Linked DNA regions of Homo sapiens: region 2 is linked to region 1. The links are contacts of gene promoters, found by promoter capture Hi-C in blood cells and fetal thymus (Javierre and others, 2016). All regions are on one chromosome and are shown on one strand. The core of a region is centred on a gene start or on the middle of the fragment in contact, and the rest is flanking DNA. Distances in the headings are between cores, read along the strand shown. Region 1 holds the start of ENHO (energy homeostasis associated). Region 2 overlaps FAM219A (family with sequence similarity 219 member A).

Evidence for each region. The method cuts DNA at HindIII sites, captures the fragments that hold promoters and counts their contacts. A CHiCAGO score of 5 or more calls a contact.
Region 2: a fragment that was not itself captured here is called in contact with the fragment with the promoter of ENHO in region 1 in 1 of 17 cell types (endothelial precursors); the score reaches 7.3 in endothelial precursors.

What each region holds. Positions count from the first base shown.
Region 1 is chr9:34,521,442-34,526,638 of GRCh38, reverse strand. It overlaps ENHO (energy homeostasis associated), which reads left to right and starts at 3,649. Exons shown (of 2, transcript NM_198573.3): 1 at 3,649-3,862; 2 at 4,783-5,197. The coding sequence starts at 4,944. The coding sequence ends at 5,174. RefSeq lists silencers at 3,224-3,593, 3,614-3,723 and an enhancer at 4,353-4,905. The HindIII fragment of the contact is 3,209 bases long and covers 1,289-4,497 here.
Region 2 is chr9:34,417,150-34,422,514 of GRCh38, reverse strand. The region is part of intron 1 of FAM219A (family with sequence similarity 219 member A); the gene reads left to right. All of the region lies in intron 1 of LOC124902145 (a long non-coding RNA gene), which reads right to left. Among named protein-coding and RNA genes, the nearest start is that of SPMIP6, 22 kb to the right of the region's middle. The HindIII fragment of the contact is 2,893 bases long and covers 1-2,799 here.

The DNA.
Region 1 (5,197 bases), core at 2,400-4,899:
ACCAACATGGCACATGTATACATGTGTAACAAACCTGCACATTGTGCACATGTACCCTAAAACTTAAAGTATAATAATAAAAAAAAGAAAAAAGAAAAAAAAATAAGAGGTGAAAAAATGATTACATGCTATTAATTGTAAGACACATTCTGATTACATATTTGTTTAAACTGGGGGAAAAAAGTACACCTTAGAACCAATCAAACATGTTATTAGCAGATGGAATTTCTCCAAATGAAATTGATAGGCAGCTGATTATGGTTTTAAAATAATTGCATAATCTATTGAGGGAAAAGCCCTTATCCAATCCTCCTAAGTGTAGAGCTCTGTGGTTGTTCAATCCCAGGATAATCTGTAAAACACCACCAGAAGGTGTAGTGCTAATCAGTACAGTGCCGCACAGAGAAATCCTCCATAATGACCCTCTCAAAACACTGGATAAGGGATCTCTACCTTGTGGGCAAAAATTAAGGCAGCCAGATTGGCCGACCAAGGAACTCCACAGCCAAAGGAGCAAGTCAACAAACAGATGCCATGAGATTTGCTAGTCCTATCATTTCATTATTACTCATGGCCAAAAACATCTACAGTAGATGATGTTCTGGATTAGTGACCAATGCACAGTGCTTCCTTTTCACCCCATTTTATTCTCTATTTCTTGTATCTCTACATATCAGGACTTTTTCATAGGGGGAGTAGTTTAAAGATAGTTCAAAGGCAGTTAAAAGGTAGTGGGATTATTAGAAGCCACATTTCATACCTCATGGAGACCTCACTAGAGCATGAAGGGACATTACCTGGAGAACCTATATCTGAAGAACAGTGGTCCTGATCTGTGCTATGATCTCCAGAAGCAGCAGCTGGATGTGTCACTGAATTGTTCTTCACTGGAAAGGAGGCAAATTTATTGGCATTTGTATCGTGGGATGATTGGATTATGTAGATGAGGGCCTTTTTGGAATCATATAATAGGAAATGATGTATATGTGTTGGGCAAACAAAGGGTGGACTGTATGGACACCTGCCATTTTGCTTCTTTATGATGCTGCTTCCCCTGGAAACCACCACCTCCACCTCCCCACTGCCCATAGCGTTATCATGTTAATCAATTTGATCTTCATCCCTTGACCACCATTGATTAGTCCAAAGGTAAGCATCTAAGTTGAATCAAAATATTTCCTGAAAATTTTGCAAACCAAAAAAAAAAAAAAAAAAGAAAGGAGGAGGATGAGGAGGATGAGGAGGAGCTGGCAGCAGCCAGTCTCTTTGGATGCCTACACAACAAGCTTTAAAACTTTAGAATTGTCTGAAGTCCCGTTTTTTACCATGTGGTCTAGAAGCATATTGGAAGTCAGTCTGGGGATGGGGAGGACAGGGACTTGGGACAGGGGAGGGAAATGGAGGCAGGCAGAAAGTAACAGAGTTGAGAGGTAGAGAGAGAACTCTTCTGGGTGGCTTTTGATCTCTTAGTTTCAGTTGTTCCTGAGTCATCCTTGCCCTTAGGTTTCCGTATCTGATTATAAATTTATCTTTTTGCTTAAACTAGTTATCTCTCTCCCTGGGTGAGCTCATCTATTTTTCTCATTTAACTACCATTCTTTTGCTGACAACTCACAAAATATTATCTTTAGCCTGGACCTCTCTCCTGAACCTGTGTATTCAGTAAATGGCATCACAGCATCCCTCGTCACTAACCCGGGAGTCATCCCAGACTTTTCCTTCCTGCTTACCTCCCCTATCCTCTAGTTCTCTAAGTCCCACCAGCAGCAGCTCCCAAATATCCTCAATGCTCTCCTTTTCTCTCTACAACTTTTTCCTTCCATCATTTCAGTCCCTTATTATTAATCCTTGCCTTCACTCTCAAATGCTTTCAAGCCCCCATTCCACACCATAGCCCAAATCATCCTACTAATTTCTGGATATGATCGCATTACTCTTCTGCTCAAAAATTCTTCAGTGGCTCCCCACTGTTTTCAGGATAAAATCTGAACTCCTGCAGCTGGGTCACAAAATTCGCTCACATTACACTCAGATGTGCGATGATTTAAGTCTCCTCTGTTTCCTATAACTAGGCTGATCTTTCTCACAATGCCCTCACCCTGCTGGGTAATGGGCAGTGGGGGGGAGCTAAAAGTAATCCACTCTGGTAAACTCTATAGGATCCAATAATTTATTTTAGACAGTCTCTAAGTACTTTGGTAGCTTTGGATGACTCAGTCTTCCCTTTCTTCTTTCAAGATAGCATCTGGATTTACAGGGGTCTTATGTGAATTTCATGGCATTGGATTGGGGGAAGGGGCCTCTTAGTCACATGGTCCTGGGGGTTGTGTCAGCTGGCATTTGCTGAGATGTGATCGATCTGCTATAAATTAGTGAATAACAACCCTGAGAGGTAGCATTACAACCATTTTACAGATGAGGAAGCTGAGGCTAAGAGAGATTTAGTAACTTGCTCAAGATCACAAAGTTAGTAAGTGAACCAGGAATCAATACTGCCCCGATTACAGTAGGCACTTAGTTATATGAGTCTAGGATTCCAGAGAGAAGTTAAGGCTAGACTTGGGAGCACTGGGAGTCTTCATGATATAGCTTCAGGGATGTGATCCTCCAAGGAGAGCATGTAGAGCGGGATGAGAAGACGGCCGGATCAGAATAGGTGACAATCACTGGCCTGTGAAGGTCGGGGAGGACAAGGTCTACCTCACTGCTCCTGTCCAAGCTATCTTCTTCTTAGGGGAGCTTTTAGGATGGCAAGGCAGGATTTCCACCACGCCTGCACCTATTCCAGCCAGGGCAGAACCATCGCTCAGGACACTCCATTTCTGTCCCAGACTCCCCAACAGCCTGGCAGCAAGCCTGCGACCAACACTGGGTAGGAACTCAGTAAATGTGTCCAAAGAACCTGTGTTGCCAGAGATTTTCACACCTCTTAGGGCCAGGGAACCTGGGGCCCTCTAAAGTGGGAATGCAGAGTCCACACCCAGGTGGCAGAGGGAAGTGCGGGACTGCACTATAGGCGGTTCCCTAGGTGAGGAGATTCAGTCTCCTGCCAGGTGTGGGGACGCGGGGCCTTCCTCCGGATGACTTACTTAAGAGACCTCTCCCAGATACAGAGGGGTGGTTTCCTCACATGTGGAAATGCAGAGGCCTTGGCCTTTCTCGGATGTGGGGTGTACAACCCTTCCAGGTGTAGAAGGTGCAAGAAATCCCTACCAGAGGTTAGGCCTTGCCCCCACCCCATCCCCTCTCCCGGGAAGGATCCAGGGCCAGCTACTCCTTCGGCCCTCCTCCCGCCCCGCGCCGGCACGAGAGGCGGGCTGGTCCCCACCTCAGCGCACCACCAATGGTGCGGGAACCGGGGTTCGGCCAGCCAATTGAGTGGCGGCAGCGGCGCTGGGATGGCTCCGCCCCCGGGCCGCAGGCCGCCGGCCTCCCAGGAGGCGAGGCTCTTCGCTGTTTTTGCTGGCCGCCGAGCCCGGCCGAGCCCAGCCGAACGTAGCCGAGCCCAGCCGAGCCCAACCGAACGCAGCCGAGCCCAGCCGAACACCGCGCAGCTCCCGCCGCCGCCGCCCGAGCGCTGCCGAGCGAGCGAGCGCCGCGGCCGCGGAGGAGGTGCGGCCCCAAGGGGAGGAGGTGCCCGCTCACCGCAGACCGCCCGCGGCAGAGGCCGCCCCGGTCGCGCCGCGGCGGGAGCGGCCGGTGGAGGCTGCGCGGCCGAGGGGGAGGGCCGGGGGAGCGGACGTCGCCTCTGCTGGTCTCCCACCTCCCGCCGCCCCCCGCCCGCAGGCTCCCAAGCCTTAGTCGGCGCCGAGCATCCCGCTGCCCCGGACCCTCCCGCGGGCGCGCACCAGGCTCAACTCAGGTAAGAAGGGCCTCCCGCCACGGGCACGGGGGCCAAGAACACGCGACCCGAAGATGGAGATAAAGAGACAGAGACACACTGCCGCGGAGAGAGACGAACACAAAGACAGAGACACAGGAACCACCGAAAAGACCCCACGGAGAAGGGGATAGGGACACGTCCATGGGAACAGAGGGGGATACAGCCTGGAAGAGAGAGAGAGACACAGAGACTGATGCAGAGATACACAGAGACACACTGGTAGAGAAATGAGACATAGAGGAGACATACTCAGAGATGGGGACACACGGAGAGGCAGCCACACACACAGAGGTGGGTGTGCAGAGGCACAGGCACACATCCAACGGAGGGACAGTGAGACACCAGACACACACACACACCTGACCCAGAGAGGCAGCCCCACATAGAGGCACACAGCCCTGGACGCACAGAGCCTGCACATGCCTGCCAGGGCCTCCACAAAGTTCCCTCTGTGCAAGCTGGCGCCTCTGGAGGTCTCCTGGTCGGGCTGGCTGGAGTCCTGGGAGAGAGGAGGCGCCCAGGCCACACCAGAGCTGCTTACAACCCCCATCCTTTTGGGCTGGGGGCTTCCTGGATCCCACCCACCAACAGAGGGCTTTTGAGGGCTGCAAGCTTGGTGGGCAGGACCAGGGCATGCCCACCAGGTCTAAGGAGAATGAGATGACGGCTGCCTACTGCAGCTTCCCCACGGTGGCTACACACTCATTCAGGTGGCCAGAACCAAGCCTGTGGATGGGGGTGATGGCTCTGTGGGGTATTCGAGCCTGTTGGGACCCAAGGTCTTTCACCAGGGAGGCCAGAAATGTGGGAGGGAGGCTCTCTTCCCTACCTCTCTCCTCCTAGGCCTCACCCCACCCTTCCTCCTCACCACCCTCTCCTTTACTGTATACCCCCAACAGGCTCAGGACTGCAGGTAGACATCTCCACTGCCCAGGAATCACTGAGCGTGCAGACAGCACAGCCTCCTCTGAAGGCCGGCCATACCAGAGTCCTGCCTCGGCATGGGCCTCACCATTGAGGCAGCTCCACTGTCTGTGCTGGTCTGAGGGTGCTGCCTGTCATGGGGGCAGCCATCTCCCAGGGGGCCCTCATCGCCATCGTCTGCAACGGTCTCGTGGGCTTCTTGCTGCTGCTGCTCTGGGTCATCCTCTGCTGGGCCTGCCATTCTCGCTCTGCCGACGTTGACTCTCTCTCTGAATCCAGTCCCAACTCCAGCCCTGGCCCCTGTCCTGAGAAGGCCCCACCACCCCAGAAGCCCAGCCATGAAGGCAGCTACCTGCTGCAGCCCTGAAGGCCCCTGGCCTAGCCTGGAGC
Region 2 (5,365 bases), core at 104-2,603, 100 kb after region 1:
AGTGACTGCTTTGCAAGACAACAGTCCCACAGAGGTGTAAGTTCTGGTACGTTGTTAATCTCATGACTTTATCTAAGTCTCTGAGAAGGGGCTGGGGTAAGAGAGATGAGGAAATTAGATTCAAATTGCCTACCAGGTGTGACTTTGGACATATTACTTTATGCAACCTAGTTCTTCAATTTTAAAATGAAAATGATATTTGCCTTACTTGGTTTTGGGGAGGATTCAATGAAATAATATAGATAAAGCACTTAGCACCATGGCCGTACCTCTGGCAGGTATTTAAGCAACATTAACTAAATGACTGGATGAGTTTTGGAAGAACTACACCTGGGCTAAATTGTTCCGAACAACTCCCTGCCTGGATCCAGCCAGAGTTCTTAGTAGAGCTGCCTCCCCAACGTGAGCTTTGAGAAGTCCCTCCTCTTCTCTCCTCTCTTCCCAGACTATTGTTCCCTCTTGCCACTAGGAATGTAACCAGGTTAAGGTCAGGGTGGAGGGCTCTTTGAGAGGCTGTCTGGGGATGGTGTGGGCGTAGAGAGGCTGGCCTAGAGCCACACTATTCCAAGTGTGGTCGCTGTATTAACAGCATTGGTACCACCTGGGAGCTAATATGAAATGCTGACAATTCAGGTTCCAGACCTACTGAATCAGAATCTGCATTTAAATAATATGCCCAGATGATTTCTATGCACATTAATATATGAAGAAACACTGTCCTAGGGGCACAGATGGGTTCAGCAGGGGTGGAGGGTTGAGACAGTGCAGGTGTGTCAGCTGTCTAGAAGAGGTAGAGGTTGTATGGGGGTGGGGGAGGCTGTGGCAGGGGGGTGTACTCAGAGAAGAGGAAGTGTCCTCAGAGATGTGGGTTGTAGAGCTGTAGGGGGCTCTTTGGGAAATGTTGGTCATTTGCTGTTTCAGCGGCCTTTCCTATTGATGCCTGGAGTACGAGGTGGTACCCCTTCCTATTGATGCCTTGAGTATGAGTTAGCCGGTAAGTGTCACTGCACCAGCCAGGGAGTGACAGGTGGGCAGGCAAAGGCTCTCTACTGCCCTGAGCCTGCAGAGACGTTCCTGCAAGTATCCTAGGACCATCTAGCTTAGCAGTTGAGTATTGTTTTCCATGGAGATGCATAACCAGCAACTGGCTAGCCTCACCCCTAAAAACACACCCTGAGTTGGTGTTACTCTACAATCTCCCCTCCTTACCTCTGTACCCCCAGCTGGCACACACACACCCCTATAACACACACACATGAACTTTCTTCTCTTGGGAGACTCAGATGGGAGTTCATAAGTAGGGTTAACCCTCCCCTTCCCCTCTCTGACCTGCTTGACCCCAGGCTGGCCCCCAGGCCTCTATGGGCCCCTCAGCCCTGACCTCCCTGCTGCACGGAACAGGCCTTGTGAGAGTGACTGCAGGCCCTAGGCTTGGCTGGATGCAGCAAAATTTGTTTCAGCAGAGCCATTCTCTCTCTCTCTCTCTCTCTCTCTCTCTCTCTCTCACACACACACACACACATACACACACACACACACACGAGTTTCACTCTGTCACCCAGGCTGGAGTGCAGTGGTGTGATCACAGCTCACTGCAGCCTCAACTTCTCAGGCTCAAGTGATCCTCCTGCCTCAGGTTCCCAAGTAGCTGGGTCCACAAGCACATGCTACCACACCCGGCTAAGTTTTTTTTTCTTTTTTGTAGAGATGGGGTCTCACTTTGTTGCCCAGACTCGTCTTGAACTCCTGGGCTCAAGCAATCCTCCCACCTCAGCCTCCTGAAGTGCTGAGATTACAGGCTCATGAGCCACCACGCCTGGTCTTTCTCTTTCTTAAGCACTCTTAGGACAGGACTCTCAGTCCCTGATTGCCTTCTTAATAAAAACCCTTTCCAGCCACCCACCTAGAGCCTCTTGACCCTTCCTTTGGGTTATCTGTTTATCTCAATGGTAAAGGAAAAGGTCCTGCTGCAAATGACCCCCCAAAATGAGGTGGGGAGTAAGTGAGTGCCCTGTGGCAGGGTAGGAACTACATCAGCAGCAACGAAAAGTAGAGTCCTAGCCCCCAGGGCAGAGCTTCACCAGTAGTTGCTTTAAACCCTCTGCCAAAGTACCCAGTGACCAATAGCCAGGTCTCCACTTTAACCTGGCTCCTGCCCAGGCCCAATCTTGTATGTCAGAGAAGATAATATCGCTACCATTATCGCTCTCCTCTGTGCTCCTACCACCCTCCATGCATTCCTGCCTCTGCTGTTCCTCTCTCTTCCTTAAATAGGCTGATCTGTGTGCCTGTCATCTCTGCACTTTTAAATTCTTCTTGGCAAGAACCAGGGCTTGGTGTTTTTCCCTCCCCAGTGTACATTGTGCCCTCCCCCTTGTTGGGGTTCAGTGATTATCAAAGTTCTGAACAAGTGGCAAGTTCACCAATGTTTAATTATTGGGATGACAAAAAGGAAAGACTAGGAGACTGCTCTGGCTAGAGAGCTGAGCTTTAGAGCTGCAAATTATCTTTGTGGGCAAAGAGTAGTGCCTGCCAGGCATAATGGGGGTTAGAGACTTAGAACAAGCTAAAAAGGAGAGGAAGGGCAGCGACAGGAAATGCCACAGAGAGGAAAAGCTATTTGATACTAGCCCTCCAAGTCCATTGTCCATTGCAGACAAGTTGGTCCTTATTCTTCCAAGGCCAGAGGGAAGAAATCCCATAGACTCTGCCAATTACTTTGCTTTCCTGCAAATCAAGGAGCCCCAAAGATTTATGAACCAGTGCAGGCCAGGCTCAGTTCCTTGAGTAATTGAAGCTTACTAAAAAGCCTTAAGTGAGATTTGGGGCCAAGATTCAGACAAGAATCCACACGTCAATCTGGCCCAGACAAATGTCAGTGTCTGCTGGCATTTCTCCTGCTTCTGCTTCCTACCAGGTGTGGGGCTCTCAAGGAGTCTCCAACCACATGTCTTGTACTGATTCCTGGGCAGTATTCTCCTCAGTGTCTATGCCTCCTCCCTTATCTTGAAGAACTGGAATCCACATTCTAGAAGGAAACTGAAAGATCCTCTGGACTGTGCTCCCTAAAGCGCTGTTAACCTTGAACAACCTTGCCATCTTCCTGTCCTCTGGGCCCTGTCTAAGGGGCACCTCAAGTAGAAAGCCCCCAGAAACCCAACCCCAAATCCCCAGCCCCGTCCAACTCCCCTGGTCTTAGAATAATTTTCCCTCTCCTATGAAAGGCCTCATCCCCAAAAGTCTGTGTTGTCTGAATCTGAATATGAAAAGGGAAGGGACTGCCTCCTCCCCACTGCCCACCACACACCTTCTTATTTTGCTGCCTAGGTCCTGCTTCTCAATTTTTTTAAAAAAAAATTGTATTAGAATATGCATAACATAAAAGTTACCATTTTAACCATCATGGGGCTTTGTTTGTTTGTTTGTTTGTTTGTTTGTTTGAGACAGAGTCTTGCTCTATCACCCAAGTTGGAGTGCAGTGGTGCAATCTTGGCTCACTGCAACCTCTGCCTCCCAGGTTCAATAGATTCTCCTACCTCAGCCTCCTGAGTAGTTGGGGTAACAGGTGTGCAACACTACACCTGGCTAATTTTTTGTGTGTGTTTTCAGTAGAGACAGGGTTTCGCTGTGTTGTCCAGGCTGGTCTCAAACTCCTGGCCTCAAGTGATCCACCCACCTCGGCCTCCCAAAGTGCTGGGATTACAGGCATGAGCCACTGCATCTGGCCAATTTTAACCATTGTAGATCTATTTTTAAAGAACTTTGTACCTTAACTCCTTTCTCCATTAAATTAGATGATCTTTCCCTAAAGAGATTGAAATGGGGGAGGCGAGGGTGATGTGGGGTTCAAAGACCTTGTAGGTCACAAGACTTGACATAGGCCAAGACCAATGTCTTAAACTGGTCCAAATGTAAGGCAGGAGCATCCTCAACATCTGGCTAAGGGGATGAGGGCCAGGAGTAGGCCAAGCCAGTCCTCCCAGAAGGAAGTAAGCCTTCTCCACTTATGATTCTGGTGTCTACCTCCTGGGTCATGAGGCTTGGCCCTTAGGCCCTTATGCACAGGCTTCCCCCAAGCCATAGCTACAGTGATTATCCCTGAGTTGAGGTATTTATCCTATCTCCCAAATGAAGAATTTTTTATGACAGGGTTTTCTGGTGAGTGGTAATAGGAATGAATAGCAGAACATCAGTCTAAGACATCAGTCTTGTCCTAACCATGAAGAAGCAGAGCAGGATTCTAAATCATCTTTTAAAACATTCTTTGGCCCCCTGTCTCTTCATTTCAAAAACAAATCCTTTTTTTTTTTTTTTACCATCTCACTACCAGCTTCATACTTTCACCATCCTTTTCTCTCCCTGTTCCTGAGTAGCTATTTCTGAAAACTAAATAATAGGTAGGGTAATAGGAGCTGCTGCCCTAGCTGGGGTAACTCCAAAGCCATTTTGGTTAATTCTCCCACCCCACATCTAAAAGCAAGGGACACACTCTGTGAGATTTGCTTTCTGGCTCCGCAATTACCGTCACGGTTCCTACAGCTGACATGCTGGCACAGGTGAGGACTGGCTAAAGCACAGTGCCCAGTTGCCAGGCAGTGCCAGTGCTCCACTTAAAGCCCTTCCCAGTCTTCAGTGTAAGAGTCTTCCCTCCTTTTGTTCTTAATTGGTGGCCTCAAGTCAGGAGTATTTTGTCTGGCAGGTGATGCCCAGAGGAAATTCTGTTCTATGAAAGAAGATTTCCCAGAGGGAACCAGGTAAATGAGGACTGGAACAGAGCTCTCATGGAAGATAATGGGTAAATGTGATGACCTGAAATTCCCTGGCACACAGTGAAAAATAAAGCATTAAAAACCAGCTATACTCTCAGTCATGACAGGAGGCATTGTAAATTGGAACAATCCTTTGGGAAAGCATTTTGGCAATATCTATCAAGAAACTTAAAAGCACTCATGTTTTTTACTGAGTAATCTACTTTATTTAGGAAATGATCCTAAATGTAAATATATGTGGATTTCAGTGTAGCATTATCTATAATAGTGAAAAGTTGCAAACAACCTGAATGTCAAAAATAAATGAATGGTTACAAAGTTACTCTACATCCTCTCTATAGGTATTATGCAGCCATTAAACTGATAGTTACAAAAACTATGTAAGAATATAAAGCTAGGGGCTGGGAATGGTGGCTCACACCTGTAATCCCAGCACTTTGGGAGGCCGAGGCAGGAGGATCACTTGAGGCCAGGAGTTCGAGACCAGCTTGGCCAACATGGCAAAATCCTGTCTCTACTAAAAATACAAAAATTAGCCAGATATGGTTGTGCATGCCTGTAATCCCAGGTACTCAGGAGGCTGAGGCAGTGAGCCG